Regions from separate parts of the Homo sapiens genome. Here region 2 is linked to region 1. Evidence: promoter capture Hi-C in human tissues and cell types (Jung and others, 2019). All regions are on one chromosome and are shown on one strand. The core of a region is centred on a gene start or on the middle of the fragment in contact, and the rest is flanking DNA. Distances in the headings are between cores, read along the strand shown. Region 1 holds the start of TKTL2 (transketolase like 2). Region 2 holds the start of LOC101928081 (a long non-coding RNA gene).

Evidence for each region. Contacts are between HindIII fragments. The study calls those that stand out against the background at their distance.
Region 2: a fragment that was not itself captured here is called in contact with the fragment with the promoter of TKTL2 in region 1 in 2 of the 25 tissues and cell types used here (heart left ventricle and lymphoblastoid cells).

Annotation. Positions count from the first base shown.
Region 1 is chr4:163,470,647-163,476,914 of GRCh38, reverse strand. TKTL2 (transketolase like 2) reads left to right here and starts at 3,161. Exons shown (of 1, transcript NM_032136.5): 1 at 3,161-5,820. The coding sequence starts at 3,181. The coding sequence ends at 5,061. The HindIII fragment of the contact is 4,534 bases long and covers 1,764-6,268 here.
Region 2 is chr4:163,105,560-163,112,037 of GRCh38, reverse strand. It overlaps LOC101928081 (a long non-coding RNA gene), which reads right to left and starts at 1,823. Exons shown (of 3, transcript XR_244745.4): 1 at 1,738-1,823. It also overlaps a transcript of NAF1 not described here. The HindIII fragment of the contact is 4,189 bases long and covers 2,134-6,322 here.

The DNA.
Region 1 (6,268 bases), core at 1,912-4,411:
TTGCATTATGAAATTGTGCATACTTTAAACAAGTTGAGTATTCTTTAGTTGAAATTATTTGCTTGAGACCAGAAGTGTTTTGGATTTCAATTAAAAAAAAATTTGGAATATCTGCATTATACTTAACAACGGAACATTCCAAATCAGAAAAATCCCAAATCCAAAATGTCCTTTGAGCAGTTCCCCTGAGTAACATGTCAGTGCTCAAAATGTTTCAGATTTTGGAGCATTGGAAACATCAGATTTTCAAATTTGGGATGCTCTACCTGTATTTATATATTTTCAATTGTATATTTTAAAATATATTTCAAATTTAAAAGACTAAAATGCTTAAAGAAAATAATTAACAGCTTATATATGTTATTTATATAACATATTAATATAAAATTAATTTTATATAAACTTAATATATATTACATATATTGATATGAGTTTTTATATATAATATATATACTTTTATATATAGTATATCTTTCCAGATATTTTACTATATATATACTTTTATATATTTATATATATATATATATATATATCTTTCCAGAGTTCCTTTTACAAAATCTCAGAATGGTTTATAAGTATTTTACACATAATTTATAAAATATTATTTTCTATATAGTATAAAAAATTCACACGGTCTCACAGAATGATAGAGGGAAATTCACACTCACTATCTAGGGTATTAAATCTCCAAGACTACATTCTTCTCTTAATAAAATTGACCTTTGCTAATGTTAAAATTTTTTTATTTAATACTTTAGGAAATAGCTGTGCAATGTTTTAAATGAGTGAAAGAATGTGGGAACTTGGAAAGAAATGTTAAGAAGTCCCATGTTTTTATTCATGGGAACATTGCCTCATAAATCATTTTTGTACTATCATGTTTACTAATTGTGTGGATTTATTAGAGTTCTTTTTGGCCAAAATAATGGTGAGCTACCTGTGTTTATATTAACTACTTTCCTGTCAGCCTGTAGTAGTTTGCTATTATTTTACTGTGATTATTATTTTTTCTCTAATTCCCATCTTCTGTACTACCAGTTCTAGCCTAGTCTGCTTGTATTTCCTCCTCCTTTATTTGTCTAAAAAGATAAACAAGCTTTAATTTGCAAAGGACATGGAGAGTTATGGATACATGATGACCTCTTAAGAACTTCTCCAATGCCAACATTCCTGCAACAAGTCTTAAAATCAGTAGTGTCATATTATTACTATTTATTCTAATATGTGTCCTTAAAAGTTAAAATGATAGAACTAGTTGAAATAGCAAATAACATTTGAAATATTTTTCTGAGATATAATGCAAGAGATAATAAGTATAAAGAGTAACAACACCCCCTGAGTTAGTTGTTTACAACCCTGACTGAACATTGAAATTGCCTGGGGAAGATTTTAAAATTACTGACGCCTAGATCTATTGCCTAGAAATTCTGATATAATTGGTCTGGAGTGCAGCATGGACATGAGATGTTTTTAAAACTTCCCAGATAATTCTAAACTACAACTAATGTTGAGAACCACTGGTCTCAGACTATCTCCAGATTATGTTATTAACCTTGACTACCCATTATAATCAATGGATGTATTTTAGAAACATAGCTTCCCAGACTCCAGGTCCAGAAATTCAAATTCTATTTTTCTGGGATGGAACCAGGCATTGTGTTTCTTATGTGCCCTAATTTTAACGTGAAGTTAAGGTAAGAATTATTGCTCAAGAAACCAAGAGGTTTAACATCGCAATATGGGAAGGTATGATATATTATCATTGTGTTTTTTTTAATTGTTGTTTTATTGATGACAAACCATAACCTTGGCCTGCTAGAAGAGTTCAATGGCACAAATTTAGTTTTTTTTGTTTTAGACGGAGTCTCGCTCTGTCTCCCAGGCTGGAGTGCAGTGGCACAATCTGGGCTCACTGCAAGCTCCACCTCCCAGGTTCACGCCATTCTCCTGCCTCAGCCTCCCGAGTAGCTGGGACTACAGGTGCCCATCACCACGCCCAGCTAATTTTTTTGTATTTTTAGTAGACACGGGGTTTCACCGTGTTAGCCAGGATGGTCTCGAACTCCTGACCTTGTGATCCGCCTGCCTCGGCCTCCCAAAGTGCTGGGATTACAGGTGTGAGCCACAGCACCCGGCCCACAAATTTAGTTTTTTAAAGTAAGTAACTTTGTCTTAAAAATGATTTGTAGTAATAGTCATTAAAAGATAAACTGAGGCACATTAAAATATTAAAGCATTTATTTGACCATTCAGTGATTCATGAATCTGGTAGCTCCTGATAAAGGAGCCAAGGAGAAGGCTTTTATAGGGTGAATTTGGAAGCAAAGGAAAGATATTTGATTGGTTAAAGTGGAGTACTAGACTTATTTGGGTCATCCCAGTGGAAAGTCCCCAGTTAGAAGTTAGCTGGCAGTTTCTGATTGATTAAGCTTAAATTTCCTTTTTATCATTTACACTGATTTGGGTTTCCTTTCCTTAGGTAGGAACTCATGGAGCTGAAGCTACCTCAGCCTACTGGCCTTCTAATTATTTCAACACAGAAATAGTACTTTACGGCACACTGGAGTTGCAATTCTATTCTGCAATTGGGTGGTTTCAGATTTGTTCTTCCTATAAATTTTGGTCAAATTAGTCATTGCATTTCTTTCTATAAGTCTGAGATTCAGATATTTGGTTGCTCTGAGAAAGTCTCTGTTGAGATAGCATTGCCATACTGGTCAGATTGAAAGTGACTTTGTATCCTTTCTATTAATGTTCTGATATGAAAGAGTGATGACTCGGATATAGTGTTAATGCATTAAAAAAGCACAGCCTGACAAATCGCTTCCTATAATACACAGAAAAATGTCTAGTCTTGAATTTATAACACAGGGAAAGGTAAAAAATTTAATTATGCTTCCTAATGTTGAACATGCACGTGACAAAGTAAATACTAAAAATCCATTCAGCTGGGCGTGGACAGGGAGAGGGAACGGTGCACATCAGAGGGTGCAGGCTACTCCAACGTTTCCGTTTCCTCAGTCTCGCGGGAAGCTCCGTTGTGGGCGCCCCGGCTGGTGGCTGAGCTCAGGCCTTCAGGCAGAGGGGAGGCGAGGGCGGGGCGGTCACGTGAGAGCACTGCCGCGGTGGGTTGTGGGGGTGCTGCGGCGCCGTTTGCTTTGCCAAACCGACAAAAGAGAGATGATGGCCAACGACGCCAAGCCCGACGTGAAGACCGTGCAGGTGCTGCGGGACACAGCCAACCGCCTGCGGATCCATTCCATCAGGGCCACGTGTGCCTCTGGTTCTGGCCAGCTCACGTCGTGCTGCAGTGCAGCGGAGGTCGTGTCTGTCCTCTTCTTCCACACGATGAAGTATAAACAGACAGACCCAGAACACCCGGACAACGACCGGTTCATCCTCTCCAGGGGACATGCTGCTCCTATCCTCTATGCTGCTTGGGTGGAGGTGGGTGACATCAGTGAATCTGACTTGCTGAACCTGAGGAAACTTCACAGCGACTTGGAGAGACACCCTACCCCCCGATTGCCGTTTGTTGACGTGGCAACAGGGTCCCTAGGTCAGGGATTAGGTACTGCATGTGGAATGGCTTATACTGGCAAGTACCTTGACAAGGCCAGCTACCGGGTGTTCTGCCTTATGGGAGATGGCGAATCCTCAGAAGGCTCTGTGTGGGAGGCTTTTGCTTTTGCCTCCCACTACAACTTGGACAATCTCGTGGCGGTCTTCGACGTGAACCGCTTGGGACAAAGTGGCCCTGCACCCCTTGAGCATGGCGCAGACATCTACCAGAATTGCTGTGAAGCCTTTGGATGGAATACTTACTTAGTGGATGGCCATGATGTGGAGGCCTTGTGCCAAGCATTTTGGCAAGCAAGTCAAGTGAAGAACAAGCCTACTGCTATAGTTGCCAAGACCTTCAAAGGTCGGGGTATTCCAAATATTGAGGATGCAGAAAATTGGCATGGAAAGCCAGTGCCAAAAGAAAGAGCAGATGCAATTGTCAAATTAATTGAGAGTCAGATACAGACCAATGAGAATCTCATACCAAAATCGCCTGTGGAAGACTCACCTCAAATAAGCATCACAGATATAAAAATGACCTCCCCACCTGCTTACAAAGTTGGTGACAAGATAGCTACTCAGAAAACATATGGTTTGGCTCTGGCTAAACTGGGCCGTGCAAATGAAAGAGTTATTGTTCTGAGTGGTGACACGATGAACTCCACCTTTTCTGAGATATTCAGGAAAGAACACCCTGAGCGTTTCATAGAGTGTATTATTGCTGAACAAAACATGGTAAGTGTGGCACTAGGCTGTGCTACACGTGGTCGAACCATTGCTTTTGCTGGTGCTTTTGCTGCCTTTTTTACTAGAGCATTCGATCAGCTCCGAATGGGAGCCATTTCTCAAGCCAATATCAACCTTATTGGTTCCCACTGTGGGGTATCCACTGGAGAAGATGGAGTCTCCCAGATGGCCCTGGAGGATCTAGCCATGTTCCGAAGCATTCCCAATTGTACTGTTTTCTATCCAAGTGATGCCATCTCGACAGAGCATGCTATTTATCTAGCCGCCAATACCAAGGGAATGTGCTTCATTCGAACCAGCCAACCAGAAACTGCAGTTATTTATACCCCACAAGAAAATTTTGAGATTGGCCAGGCCAAGGTGGTCCGCCACGGTGTCAATGATAAAGTCACAGTAATTGGAGCTGGAGTTACTCTCCATGAAGCCTTAGAAGCTGCTGACCATCTTTCTCAACAAGGTATTTCTGTCCGTGTCATCGACCCATTTACCATTAAACCCCTGGATGCCGCCACCATCATCTCCAGTGCAAAAGCCACAGGCGGCCGAGTTATCACAGTGGAGGATCACTACAGGGAAGGTGGCATTGGAGAAGCTGTTTGTGCAGCTGTCTCCAGGGAGCCTGATATCCTTGTTCATCAACTGGCAGTGTCAGGAGTGCCTCAACGTGGGAAAACTAGTGAATTGCTGGATATGTTTGGAATCAGTACCAGACACATTATAGCAGCCGTAACACTTACTTTAATGAAGTAAACTAGGCTTATTTCTAAAAAGTCAAGTCTATTGGCTTTGGCCCAAAAGCACTGGTATCTTTGTATTAAATTCATGTTTATTGTCACAAAACCATTATTTATACCTATACAGTTGTACTGTTTCTTTTAAAGCAAAGCCATTTAACATCTTTCTTCATTCCTAATTTGGAAATTAAAGTTTACCTTTCTGTTAATCTATGTATAAATGTTACTCTGAGTTATTAATGTGGATTTTAAAATTGTAAGCAATAGAATAGGAAATAAAACAACTACCTAATACAAATATTTCTGATAAGACTACAAATATCTGACTGAGCTGGGGATTAAAGTAGAGGTAACTGTATCTTAAATGAGTATGATTTCCTTGTAAGTTAAAAAAATTGAAATTTAATTGTAGACTTCAATAGTCCAAGTTTTGAAGGATGTTTGAGCTTTTGTATAATGCCATTTATACCTGCAGTTTTACAGATAATGTTTGACTGCAGTTGCCTTGGAAATTCCTCCAAAGTTTGCCTTCATCTCTCCTCTACAGTTTGGAGGTGATGGTGCAGCAGTGGAACATCTCTTGATGCACCACACTACTTGTGTTCTGTGAAGTGATGAAAGTATAACTGGTTCTAGTTTGCACACTACACACATAGTTTTGTGAAGCTTCAGAAATGTTTTTTCTTTTCCTTGTGGCCAAACCAGTTTGTTAATCTGATTATATTCATCTGCTAATGATACTAAAGTTAATGTAATAAAGCATTTAAAAATCAGATACTTCAGTCTGTGCTGTGTATGTGGGATTTGATTTCTTCCTGATGAAATCCTAAATAAGGAGAACTTGTGTCTAAATAAGAAACAGAGAGAGTCATGACCCCCAGAAGCAAACCTGGAAAAAGGTTGAAGCTGGAGATAAGTTACTAGAGAAGATTGTATGGACTAAAAAGCCATCCCTTAAGCAGACTCCTGACTTTTGGCTGTCAGTGTGTAAATATATGCTTGGAGTACAAGAAAGTACCAGTCAGGCAAATCATAGATGGACCCAAGGTTCCAAACTAAATTAAATTACTCTGTGTCTATGTCAGGTAATTATTTCCTTACTTTTATTACCCTCATTAAGTTCTTTGGAGGCATAACCAATTTGTCTCAGCAATCATTGTCTTAGGAGGTATAATAGAGCCAAAAAATATTAATACTAACCTGGGAATTAGAGAAACCAGGCT
Region 2 (6,478 bases), core at 2,979-5,478, 370 kb after region 1:
CATTTCCTCTGTAGCTTATTCTAATCAGGCTTCCCCCTCCATTAGTGGAAACTGCCCTTTTCAAAGTCATCAATGGCTTTTACAGTGCAAACTATGATGGTCTGACCTCAGTCTTCATCATACTTAACGTTTTTTGCGTGATTGATAAAATTTTCTACTCCTTAAAATGTTTCCCACTTGGCTTCCAGGACATCAAACTCTTTTACTTTTTTCTCCTCCTAGTTCACGGCTCACTCTCAGATGGGCCACCTAGTGCACAATTCGAAGAAATGCCATTTACCTAGAACAAAACACTAGCGGTGGCTCTACTTTCTCAGTCCCCTTTTCTAATTGATTCTCTTTTCCCTGTCTCTTAAGGTAGGAGGGTCACAGAGTTCATGCTTGATCCATTTATGTTTTTTATGTACACATTTCTCTTCCAGACACTTGGACTCAGAAATGCACAAACTCCCTGACATCTTTATTTAAATGACTAATAGGTATGTTAACGTCCAAAATGAATTCTAAATTCACCCCAAACTTGCGCCACTGGACATTTCTGCTCCCTCAGTTTATGACAACTCCATCCTTCCAGTTGATCAAGCTCATTCTATTTCATTTTATTTTGTGTTTCAAAACAAAATAGAAGAACAATAAGGATTGTATATTACTTTTACTTTATGCTCAGAGATGGGGAGGGAATAATGGTGGTTAAAGAATTAACCTGCTTTCCAATTTTCTAGGGATAGCACTCTGAATTTAAATGTTTCAAATGGGTTGACAACTACCAAAGACATTTTCCCACTACTTCCTCCCTCTCCTCTGGTATTCAATTACTTCCTAACTTGACTCATATTCACCTATTTTTTTAACACCAAATCAGTCCTTCAGCTTTGTATCTAGAAGTATATATTCAACACTTGTCACTTCTGAAAAAAACAAAAGGTAGTTATGCAATAGTTGAAGTTATGTCCAGAAATCTACAAAAAAGTTTTTTTGCGAGATATAAATTAGTAAGGAGTTTTCTGAGGAACCTTCAAAAAGCAATTTTTGGGGTTTACCTTTTTTAAAATGTTTCCGGTGTTTAATATGTGAAAAGGAATACAATTTCTAGTTATTATAGAGGGAGAAACAAAACTCAAGCAGCTCTATCTCAGTTTTGATGTAGGCCTTAATCCATTTTTAAAAAATATAAATAAATCCCTAGAGATTACAGTTCCAGGTTCCTAAGACTAAATATGTAAATAACTACGCTACAAAGTGCTAGAGCTCATCAATTTTGAGTTAAAAAAATCCATAGTAGAATTTAACTTGATGGAAACAAAAATAGGAAAACCAAAAACAAAACTGAAAGCTTAAAATCTGTCTCTAGTTCCTGTCCTCTTTCAGTGGAAATGTATTGAAGCAAATAAACATCACTTTTGCTTGACCTTAGATTTCCAGATCAGTAAGAGAATATGCAAAATTCATTTACAAGTTAACTTTCAAAGTTAAGATGATGATACAGTAGCTCCCCCTGAGCCTTGGGGGATATGTTCCAAGACCAGCGGATGCCTGAAATCACAAATAGTAGCGAACCCTATATATACCATGATTTTTCCTATACTTACATACCTATGATAAAGATTAATTTAGGAAATAGGCACAGTAAGAGATTAACAACAACTAATAATACAATAGGACAATTATAACAATATTTTGTAGTAACAGTTATGTGAATGTATTCTTTCTCTCTCAAAATATCTGATTTTACCTCACCTATTTTCAGACCATGGTTGACTGAAGGTAACTGAAACCACGAAAAGTGACAGCACAGATGAGGGGAGAGTACTGTATCCTCAAATGATGGTATGGCTGGTGATGGTAACAGCAAGTCTACCAGCCTAGTCAAGCATTCTTATCCATAGAAGAGTTGCCATGGGAACCTCATGGCAACCCACAGATTTCAAGTACTGTATGTTCTGCCTAAATAAATAATGAAAAGCTATCTTACTGAATGTTCTCCATATCTGCATACTTAATAGGGCAGGATGCTACCTCACATATCATTTGCAGTAAACAAAGGTAAAAATGAGAGACATACAAAAGTAAGATAAGGATTACATATCTGCATTTTAAAAGCACATTCCGTGTTAACTAATTATGTTTTCATTTCATTCTGGATCAGAAGATCAGACACACATCATTGCTTATTCAGACCTCACCTGATCCTATTTATAGGCCCCTCTCAAACTCACTGAAGATGACAGTAATCTCTATATCTATGCAGAGTGTGAGGTAATTCTAGGAGACACCTTTCTGTGCAAAATGTCAGGTGTTAGCTCCCCATGGAGCACTCTCTCCTTGCCACTTGGGGACCTCACAGAAACAAGTCATAGCATTCTTTTTTTAGGCTGTGAGGTAGGGTTAGATCATCCTCACTTTTCTGTTACCACTTGTGTTCTTTCTGTATGTGCTTTTTAAATTCACTAACTAATAGAAAAATGCTTTGAATACATTATTAACCTCACAAGAGGATTTTTTTTCTTCCTAGACATTGAAATATTTTAGACACTAGAAAATAAAGGATTTTTAATAAATGGAGTGTAACTACTCAAAACTTTTTTCTTCTTTCCCCAAAGTGAATAAATAACAATTGTAGGCTAATGTTTCAGATTAGCATAGGTAGATAATATTAGTTTTTAATCATGAAATTATTTTAAGTGCATCATTTGAGAGAATTTATGGTATAAATTCTCTATAAATTTTATATTTGATAAGAAATACGAAGATAGAAGCTAATGAAGAGGGAGAAGAACTAAGTATTCTTGAGTTGTTTGTGAAAGTAGTAATTTAATCGAAGTTGTATTCACTTAGCCCCTCCAAGATTAAGTTTCCATGTGAAAAAAAAAAAAAAAAGGGTGAAAAGGAGAGCACCAAAACCTTACATGACTGGAGATGATTTAATAAAAAGCTTGTTTCTGCTCCTCACTGAAATGCCTTGGAATATGATAAGTACAGTCAGAAAGTTTTTAATATTTACTCTCAACATACAGTAAAGATTTAGGAAGAGAAAGGACGGAATAGGGAACTCAGTCTTCCTAAGCCTAATTTCATTAAGAAACTTAACAAAGGGAAAAGACACTAAGCCCTTTTCTTGTAAGAAACTCACCTGAAAAGGGAAGGGATCCAAATATGAACAAGAACAGTGACTTAGCACTGGCTTCTCAAGAAGATATGTTTTCGTCTGGTGCATAATGCCTGGCACATAGTAGGCCCACAGAGAGTATTCACTGAATGAGGGAATGCATGATAGAATACATTAGAGAGTGTATTTTTGCCTGTGTTAACTTTAATTGAATACATTTTAAGAATAATATGTTACTCTTTGAAAACCCATATTCTATTAGTTTTATAAAGCATAATGGAAGAAAATATCAGTGAAGCACCATTTATTTTAATTGTAAAGATTTCTTGATTTATCAACCAATATGGAGGACATTTTTGACTAAGTGAAAAAACAGGTTAGTGTAAATCTTAGCAATTATTTCTTTAATCTGTGACTGGCTTTCTCTTATTGAATTCAGTGCTTAACATTTGAATATTATTTTCTTTTCATAATTGAAGTTGGGGAGTAAGAGATGTTCTCCAGGTGTCAACTATTGTTTTAGGAGGCTTCAAAAGAAACATGAGCAAGCTATTGGCTAATGGGCTTGAATTAATGGTTATTGGAAAGTTAAAGATGTACCATATGCCATGATCTAGGTACCTACAGCCATTTCTCTGTTCTTTCTCCATATCCTTGTCTCTCATTCTTCCACAATCCTTCCCTGCCTATAAGCAATTACAGTGAAAAATGCTGGAGTAGAATGACATAAGATCTTTTAAGGTCAAGGGCCAGGTGATTTCAGATACTATGACTTTTCAGAAAGCCCAAATAAGTTATTTCCTTACTTACATCGCTGTTGATATATGCAAATTATGTTGCATGCAGGAAGAAAAAAAAATTTTCTTAATTTCCACACTCTAGCAAGCTAAATGGTTTGAAATATACTTGACAATGTTCTGCAATATTGAAAGTAGTATCTATTTCTGATGTTTCAATTCCTGTATGTCAAACATTATCAAAGAGGGCAATATCGCCCCCAAGGGGATAAAACTTCATTATTGGAAGGTGGAAAGTTCTTATCTTTTTAATGTACAATATTAAGCACAGACATACATACAGTAATTACAGATACAGCATATCTGGGGTATTATAATTTCATAGTGGGGGATTAGGGAAAAAATATCTAAAAAGGCTCCTTGGCAAGCAGGGTGGAGGGGATAACCAAAAAAGCTTAAGAAACACTATTGTACATTGTGCTTTCCATTTATTAAAAAAATCTTATTCTCCCCAGGTTCAGGCTAATGGAACAAATAATAGAGAACTAATAGTCCTATGGGAACCATTTTTTTAAAATAGTCGAGCAATGTAGGACTCTCAGGTAAAAGCTTCTTTACAGACTGTGCTTAGATCTGGGACTGAAGTGAGGTCCATATTGTTTGAATTGTAGTCAAGTCATTCCTACAAGACGATCTAAACCTGAAACAGAAAGAGGGAAAGCTCTGTCCTGGAGAGAAAATTGCACAGCGAGAGCACAGTGTACCTGGACACAGAGTGAAAGAGCAGGCTGAAGGAGCCTGCTGTATCTGAGCACAGGCTGCTCTCAGCAAGTACACATAGAGACTTGCTTTTGGGCCCAATGATCCCCTTTACTAGCAAAATGACGTAAGTAGCAAGAGTCTCAAAGTGCTAGGCACAGTGGCTCATGCCTGTAATCCCAACCCTTTGGGAGGCCAAGGCGGGCGGATCACTTGAAGTCCAGAGCTTAAGACCAGCCTGGCCAACACGGTGAAACCCCGCCTGTACTAAAAGTACAAAAATTAGCCAGGTGTGGTGGCAGGTGCCTGTAATCCCAGCTACTCGGGAGGCTAAGGCAGGAGAATCACTTGAACCCAGGAGGCGGAGGTTGCAGTGAGCCGAGATTGCACCACTGCACTCCAGCCTGGCTGACAGAGCGAGACTCCATCTCAAAAAAAAAAAAGAAAGCCTCAAATTAGCCACTTTTTCTAAGAAAGGTAGGCGTGGAGAAATAACCCTGAAATGTATCATTCTTTGAAAATATGAGAAAAGAATGGAGGATTCTCTCAAATGTGTGGTACTATAAATTGAAGTGAATTTTGTCTACTAGTTTTGCCTAATTTGCCACTGATAAATAGATCTTTATTTTAGATTTCTCTGTATAAGTTAATATTCATCTAACACTCAGGTTTTTTTTCTATATTCTCAGAAAACATACCTCAGAAAACATAAGATTAACTCTTGATTGTTTTTCTGAATTATTTATTAATTAAAATAAATTATTCCATTTTTAGGCTGAAATCTTATTGGATGATTCTGTATTAATATAAGAAACAAGTGGGCAGAGAAAAATACAGAAATAAAAAAATGACTATTTACTATTCATATTATTTCAGTAGTTCTTTTTCACTTTAGTTTTCATTACTATAGAAAATGGAAACGCTAGACTAGTGTTGTCCAATGAAATACCCTGCTGTGATGGACAGGAACTATATAGGCACTTTCTAATATGAAAGTGCTAGCTATTTGGGATTAAGTTCTTGAAGTATAGCAGTGGGACTGAAGTATTAAATTTAAATTTCATTTAATTTTAATTAAATTTAGCATATAGTCACTTGGGGCTAGTGCATTACCATATTGGTCAGTGCAACACTTAGATTCTGAGGATGTTTGGCATACTTTAATTTACAAAATCAAATTCCTTAGTTTGAAATAATGTAATAAGAACACTGGCAAACCATTGTGAGTTTTCCTCACTACACATATTTGGGGCTCCTAGGTTAATATTATGTCTTTGTTTGGGATAACTGTCAATAGTGGTCTCCTGGTTCAAATCCAAATGAGGCCTCCCACAGGTGTGGTTAATGAAAATGCATTGATTAATTGTGTGTTTCTTACACAAAAAAACTAACATCCTTTAAATGATTAGACTAATATTAAAGAATATTGACATGTTTAAATGAAATATGCAACTTAGAACAAAATGTTTAGAAGTAAACATTTTTCAAGATATAATTGGCAACTTGCTCATAATTTTCTTATTCTCAATCATAACTTAAGCCTAATTCTCAGCAGAAGTTGAATTAGAGCTTGCATTCAGTGACAAAACCTAGCAGACAATTATTGAACACTGCAAAAATAAACATGTTTTCCACATCTGCTAAAAGATTTAAGACAGATACAAGCCAGACAAGTCCAAATAATTTACTTATAAAATGCAATATACTTGTTTAACCAAAAGGAAGTATATCAAATTTATTTGAGTTAAATAGGCATTCTATTTTGTAGGGATGAAATTTTGCTTATAATATAATGAAAATGTAATGCACTCTTTATGATCTTAAGAAATTATTTCCAACAGATTTTTATGCAATAATAAAAGACTGTCTTCTAAAG